Regions from separate parts of the Homo sapiens genome. Here region 2 is linked to region 1. The links are contacts of gene promoters, found by promoter capture Hi-C in blood cells and fetal thymus (Javierre and others, 2016). All regions are on one chromosome and are shown on one strand. Each heading gives the region's core, a stretch centred on a gene start or on the middle of the fragment in contact. The rest is flanking DNA. Distances are from core to core; before and after follow the strand shown.

Region 1 (3,324 bases), core at 1-2,500:
GAGATCAATAAACTAACAAAAAGACTGGCAATGAGGAAACACTCTTGAGACTTTCGTGTGACTATGGATACATATCACTTCCATTAGTAAAACAACCAACTGGCCCCTACCCTAGATGGGGAGAAACAGAGAGAAGAGGCTGGCAGAGGTCGACTAGGTCTACAGGAGTTGAGCCGAAAACTTCTGCTGCCATAGCTGGCAGGTGGCTGCTTAGTGCTGGGCCCTGATGTGGTTTCATAACCTGCCTCAAACCAGAGCCTGCAGCAACTCTGTTGTGTTAACCACTTTTTTGCTGGTAGCTCTTTCCCCCTCCTTCCCGCCCCACCCTCTTGGCTCCACATACAAATATCCGGGCCCAGCCAGTATGCCAGACACTCAAGCCAAGGCTGAGCACCACCAGGGCAGCCACCAGGTGAGCCCTTCCCATTCCCTCCCCCAGGAAAGAGCAGCCCTCACAACAGCAAACCTCCTGTCTTCTGGAAGAGGAGCACAAAACATCCAGGCCTGGATGGGGACCCCAACGGGGAGTCCGGGGCAGCACGTCACAATGCCATGTCCATTCCGCCCACCCCCCAAGCTGCAGGACCACAGCTGATAACCTCTCAACTTTGGCCCAGCCACCCCGACTGGGGGAGGGCGGTAGGAGCGGAAAGCGAGTGCCCAGGCGAACCCGCACTAAGCACAGGAGAGGAGGAGCGAAGAGGCGGAGTCCTCACTGTTGTTGGGGTTTTCTGAGTGAGACCTCGGGTGCGGGGCCGGGGGGAGGGGTCCCGCTCTGTTCCCCAGCCTGGGTCTTCGCACTCGGAACCCGGTCCGGTCCGGGACCCCACAGCCATCTCCACGCGTTCACCCAGCCCTGGAGGCAGCCAAACGTTTATCCCCGAAGCCGAGCCGCTCCCCGCCTCCCACCCCTAGCCGAGGCGCTCCTCCCGACGTTCCACCCCCGGCCTCCCGCTCGCACTTTATTCCTTGGCCACCTCCCCAGCCGATGCACCCCCTCGGCTGATGCACTCCCTCCACCCCCCACTCCCTCTGCCCCCGTCTCTCCAGCCCGGGGCGCCTCCCCAGCAGCCCCCACCTTCTCTCCCGCCCCTCCCGTAGCCCTGGGGCCTCTTGGTTCCTTCCGGGCTCACCGTGTGGGGCCGAAGATCAACGGCCCGGGAACGGTTCCCGGGAGCGGGGGCCGCTGCTGCTCCAGCAGCTGTAACAACCCGCGGCTGCAGCCTCCCCGCTGGCAGCTCCGGCCGAATCAGCGCTCCGCGCCGGTCCCCGTACGTCACCGCCCCGCGCCGGCACGCCCGACGCCTTCTGGGAGTTGTAGTTTCTTCCGCTGGCTCCGGGCCGGCCCTCCCGACGCCTCCTGGGAGTTGTAGTTTTTCCTGGGCTCCGTTCCCGGCCTCTTCGGGGACGCACGGTTGGAAGTTGTACCGTGACGTGATGGTCAGATCGGATGATAGAATTTTGGTGCGTAACAATTCCAACTTTTGCTTCTGTGCCCTTCAAGTGTATTTTATCCGTGCCCCAGTTTTGCAGATGAGGAGACTCGGACTTGTAAGTAACTTTCTGTAGGTCTTTGCTGGGTCCTAGACTGGATCGAAACCCAAATATTCTGACCCCAACTGCAGGATTTTTCCACTGCACCTGGCTGCCTCCGCCCTGGCCCCAGATTGGCTCCTCCAGAAACAGACTAGCCCGGCCCTTTGCCCTGCTGGGCCCTCCTGGGAGAGCGCTTTTCACAACATTGGCTGGGATGAGGGTCTGGAGGGCCCGGAACGGAGCCTGCCTTCTCCTTCTCAGTCACGCTTGGCCCAGGCTGCCCCGGACCGGGCCACATCCTTGGCCGCCCCGCACCTGACGTGAGAAGAGGCTACGTATCATAGATTCCTCCATCAGTAGTAAGGAGCCTGAGTTTCTGTCTCAGGTCAGCTTGTGTGGCTTTGAATGAGAGGCTCTGGTCTGCAGTTTTCACATCTGCATCGTCTAAAGGCAAGGGCACAGACTTTACTGCCTGGTAGACATGGGGTAGGCCCTCCTTTATTGGCAGTGTGACCCTGGGCAAATTACTTGTCTTAATCTCCAATTCCACACCTGTGAAACCCCACCTCCAAGGTTGTGGGAACCCAAAAGAATGTATGTAAAGCACCTGTTGCATTGTAGGAATCTACTTAATATTACTGTAGGAGGTTGAACTAAATGGCTCTTGAGGTCTCCTCGGTTACTCCCATTCTCCATGTCACCAAGAGGTCTTGTCTGGGTAGTTTCAACTCCTTACCCAGCTTCTTTCTAAGTCCACTCTATGCAGGGCAGGGCTGGAATAGCAAGGTCAGATGATGTCATGGCATGCCAACCTGACTCTGAATGGCAGTTCATGGCACCCTGAACTGAAAGTGAGGGAACAGGAAGGAAAAGGCTAGCCCAGGGAAACTGCGGAGCACTTTACTCGGACTACACCTACCTTTCCTTCCCCAGGGGGCTGCCAGGAAACAGTTGTCACACAGCTGGAGTGGGACCCCCAGAGGCACTTAGTGGTCACCAGGCAGGTGGGTATTTGAACCACCCAGAGCAGAACAGGCAGCTTCTTCAATATTTCCAGGGCCAATGGCCCCAAAAGGGCTCATTCCAAGATCGAAATAATCATCTGAGTCTGAAATAGCTCTGCCTATGTCCTGTGGAAGTTTCTCCTGGTTTGTGGAGGTGCCTTTCCTTATAGTCATCTTTCTGCAGACATAAGCAAACCCAGTGTTGTTCTTTTCACAGAAACCTCCCCAGCATTAAGGCAAGAAAGGTGTCTCTGTTTTTTCCGAAGTGTGCCTGCTTGACTCCTTTGATTTTTCTCTGGGATTCTTCATCCTCCATCAAGTTGATCGATCCCTCTGGATCTTGGTCAGTTTCCTGACATCTCTATGAAGTTCAGTGACCCAGACTGAGTCCACGTCTCAAATAAGGTTCTGACTAATGCAGAGTCTAACAGAAAGATTACTGAACATGTCATGCACTATTAATAACTCCTGTTATCGAGGATTTTTTTTTCACAATAGGAATGAACAGAGTTCTGACTCACTCTAGGTTTGTGGTAAATTGCAGATCACTTTCTGCTTTATTTAGCGGGAGTCCCTGTTGTCATCTTTCTCCTTCTCTCTTGGCCCTCATAATTATCATATCTTCCCCAAACGTTCTTCAGCTGTGAATAGCCCTAAGCACTATTCAGAGTGAGTGACAGCTCTCTTATTTCGTGCTGGGGGACATACAAACCCTTGGACAAACACTTGTCACTGTGTGCCAAGAAGCTGAAAAATTCTTCTTGCCTCAGAGCCATAATTACAC
Region 2 (3,285 bases), core at 213-2,712, 350 kb before region 1:
AAGGTGACATCTCTGAGGAGCGTTGGTCACGTGTGTCAAGGCCTGGTGACGCGTGTCTTATGTGCCTCCCTGGGCATCTTCTCAGTACAGTTCTCAGTAGAAGCAGGGGCAGGGTCTGGACCCAACCAACACAGGACACCCCGCAAGGATCTAAGCTTAAAGGAAGGCCAGGAGTCTGTGTGAGGGAGAGGACCTTTTCCCCAGAATCCAGCATGGTGTGCCCACCCCACGCCCAAACCAAGTACTGACACCTTAAAAAGAGCATCTGGGCCGGGTGCGGTGGCTCCCGCCTGTAATCCCAACACTTTGGGAGGCCGAGGCGGGCGGATCATGAGGTCAGGAGTTCGAGACCAGTCTGGCCAACATGGTGAAACCCCGCCTCTACTAAAAATACAAAAAAAAAAAATAGCTGGGCGTGGTGGCGGGCGCCTGTAATCCCAGCTACTCTGGAGGCTGAGGCAGGAGAATCGTTTGAACCCGGGAGGCAGAGGTTGCAATGAGCCAAGATTGCACCATTGCATTCCAGCCTGGGCAACAAGAGCAAAACTCCGTCTCAAAAAAAAAAAAAAAAAAAAAAAAAAAAAAAAAAAAAAAAAAGAGCATCTGGGGCCAGAACTGAGATTGGAGCATCTACTTAGTTCCGCCACTTGGTTTGTAGCCTGGGCAAGTCGCTTTACCTTTCTTAGCCATGGCTTATCCATCTATACAATAGGGATAAGCCAGTTGCCAATGACTAAATGGGATAATATGTAATGTGTAGATGGCAGGACCTTAAGTCCTCTGGCAAAAAGAAGAAAGGGAGATAAGGGGCTGACCTCTATCCCTGCTGCTGTTTTGGGTGGATACCTTGAGGGAGGTGAGTCTTCTCCATATGCTTAAATCCCTGCTTAACTGGAAGATTACCTCAAACCTTCCAGCCAAAGCCGCCCCATTGTCACAGTAGAGGGGCAAAACTGCTCTTTACCTCATTGGCATTGCACGGATTCAATATCTAGGTTTACACCAGGCTCTCTACTACTGTCCTTCTCTCCTTGGGTCCTCTCTTCCCACAATCCCTGACAGTCTCCCTCTCGTGCCTTGCCCCTGTCCTGTCCAAGGGCCAGACCTGGGAAGTTTCTTCCATAGACTCCAACCTTTGATCCCTCTCAGCCCTGGGAAAGAGGGAACTGGTGGAGAATTTGAGGCCGTTTAATGTATACCTGTCATGCTTGTGAATGTGATCTGAGCCTCTCTGGCAACTTCAGTGTCTATCTCAGGGCCTGTTTCCTCTTCTGTAAATTCATTATTCTTGCAACCCACATTGACTGGGTGACAACAGCAGGGCAGCATGGTGCACCCAGCAGGTTGGGAGTATGGAAAAAACACAGGATGGAAAGAACTCCACTGAGGCCGGGCTCGGTGGCTAATGCCTGTAATCCCAGGACTTTGGGAGGCCGAGGTGGGCAGATCGCCTGAGGTCAGGAGTTGAAGACCAGCCTGGCCAACATGGTGAAACCTCGTCTCTACTAAAAATACAAAAAGTAGCCAGGCATGGTGGTGCGCACCTGTAATCCCAGCTACTCAGGAGGCTGAGGCACGAGAATCACTTGAACCCGGGAGGCAGAGGTTGCAGAGAGCTGAGATCGTGCCACTGCACACTGCAGCCTGGGTGACAGAGTGAGACTCCATCTCAAGAAATAAAACCCCACTGTGAAACTACTGATCTGGGGACAACAGACCAATGCACACAGCAGGCTCTCCAATACTAGGGGTCGGTGCAGGGACACCTCCCAGATTCTAGAGCATTCCACAGTGTCATGATGCTTCCTCCTGTCCTTCCTGAGTACAGCAGACTCTTCCCCTAGACTTCTGTCAGAGGCTAATTCATTTCCTACGGGAAAAGACATCCTAAAATTTGAGTCTGGGGCTTTTGTTCATTCCCTTTTGTTGGAATTCCCTATTTTTACACCAGTCATCCAGTATCTTTATATTCAAAGGGAAAACACAATAAAAATACTTCCAGTTTGCCAGTAGCCAGAATCAGGTTAGCTCATGTATCTAGGTTTGCAAAGCTGCCCAGGACCTTTGTTCAGTGTGGCCCTGTGTGTGGCTGCCTTAGTCTACCCACTGGCCTGTCTGCCCACCCATCCCTGGCTGGCCTGCCCTATCTTCAGCGCCTATAGCCCTCAGCTCCACTTCCTATTAATACAAACCATGTGGGACCCTCACTGTGGCGTCTCCAGGCAAAAGATGAAGCCACAGCCGCCTAGTGGCTGCCAGGGAGGCTGGCAGGAAGGGGCATCTCTACCCGGCGTCTCCTGGGAAACAGCGAGCTCCCCAGAGAAGGGACATTTGGAAATAAAATTTCTGCCGTTGTGTGTCAATGTGTGTGTTGAGGCAGGAGAGGGAGTTAAGAAGCCTCCCCAGCCCCTCTGTTCCTTTCTCCTCAGGAAAAGCCTCTTGGAGCAACTCTCCCACTGCCTCCCAAAACTCCAGCCCCTTGTAGGCTCTCCTGGGACTGGACAAGTGGCTGAAAATGTTCCTTCAGATTCATGATGCAGGTGAAGAAGAGCACTGGACTGAGAGTCAGAGGCCCCAGTTCTGAGCTTCCTGACTTACCCCGTGGCTCTGGCCTGTTATACCTCCCTTTCTGAGTCCTAAGTTCCTCCTCTGTAAAATGAAATTTTTTCATCATTCCTGGTCTCTACATTGGGCCTCCTCCACAAAGTCCAGGAATATAGTTGGGGCATTCTAGGCCATTCTTTCCTATACTTAGGACAGATAACTAATAGAAGCTTATAATTCCTAGAGTGACCTTGACTCTAGGAATTCTACAGCGACCTTGAATGAGCCAGGGCCCTTCACCTGCCCATGCATTCATTCAGGCATTTGTAGGTGCCTTTTGAGAGTGAAGTCTGTGCTAAGAGGGTGAAGTCTGTGCTAAGAGGGTCTAAAGCTGCCCCAAATTTTTTTTTTTTTTTTGTAGAGATGGAGTCTTGCTCTGTTACCCAGGCTGGAGTGCGGTGGCGTGATCTTGGCTCACTGCAACCTCCACCTCCTGGGTTCTAGCAATTCTGCCTCAGCCCTCAGCCTCCCAAATAGCTGAGACTACAGGTGCACGCTGCCACACTCGGCTAATTTTTTGTATTTTATTTTATTTTTATTTATTTATTTTTAGATGGAGTCTCGCTCTGTCGCCAGGCTGGAATGTAGTGGCACAATCTTGGTTCACGGCAACCTCTGCCTCCCGGGTTCAAGCGATTCTCCTGCCTCAGCCTCCCAAGAAGCTGGGACTACAGGCGCCCG

What was found. The method cuts DNA at HindIII sites, captures the fragments that hold promoters and counts their contacts. A CHiCAGO score of 5 or more calls a contact.
Region 2: a contact is called between a fragment that was not itself captured here and the fragment with the promoter of ORMDL3 in region 1, in 1 of 17 cell types (total B cells). The highest score is 5.1, in total B cells.

What each region holds. Positions count from the first base shown.
Region 1 is chr17:39,926,351-39,929,674 of GRCh38, forward strand. It overlaps ORMDL3 (ORMDL sphingolipid biosynthesis regulator 3), which reads right to left and starts at 1,251. Exons shown (of 4, transcript NM_139280.4): 1 at 1,134-1,251. It overlaps LRRC3C (leucine rich repeat containing 3C), which reads left to right and starts at 1,382. Exons shown (of 4, transcript NM_001195545.2): 1 at 1,382-1,464. It overlaps LOC124903999 (a long non-coding RNA gene), which reads left to right and starts at 370. Exons shown (of 2, transcript XR_007065750.1): 1 at 370-412; 2 at 578-652. RefSeq lists enhancers at 505-1,115, 1,116-1,727. The HindIII fragment of the contact is 24,326 bases long and covers 1-3,324 here.
Region 2 is chr17:39,574,146-39,577,430 of GRCh38, forward strand. No RefSeq gene overlaps it. Among named protein-coding and RNA genes, the nearest start is that of NEUROD2, 32 kb to the right of the region's middle. RefSeq lists an enhancer at 411-985. The HindIII fragment of the contact is 2,619 bases long and covers 154-2,772 here.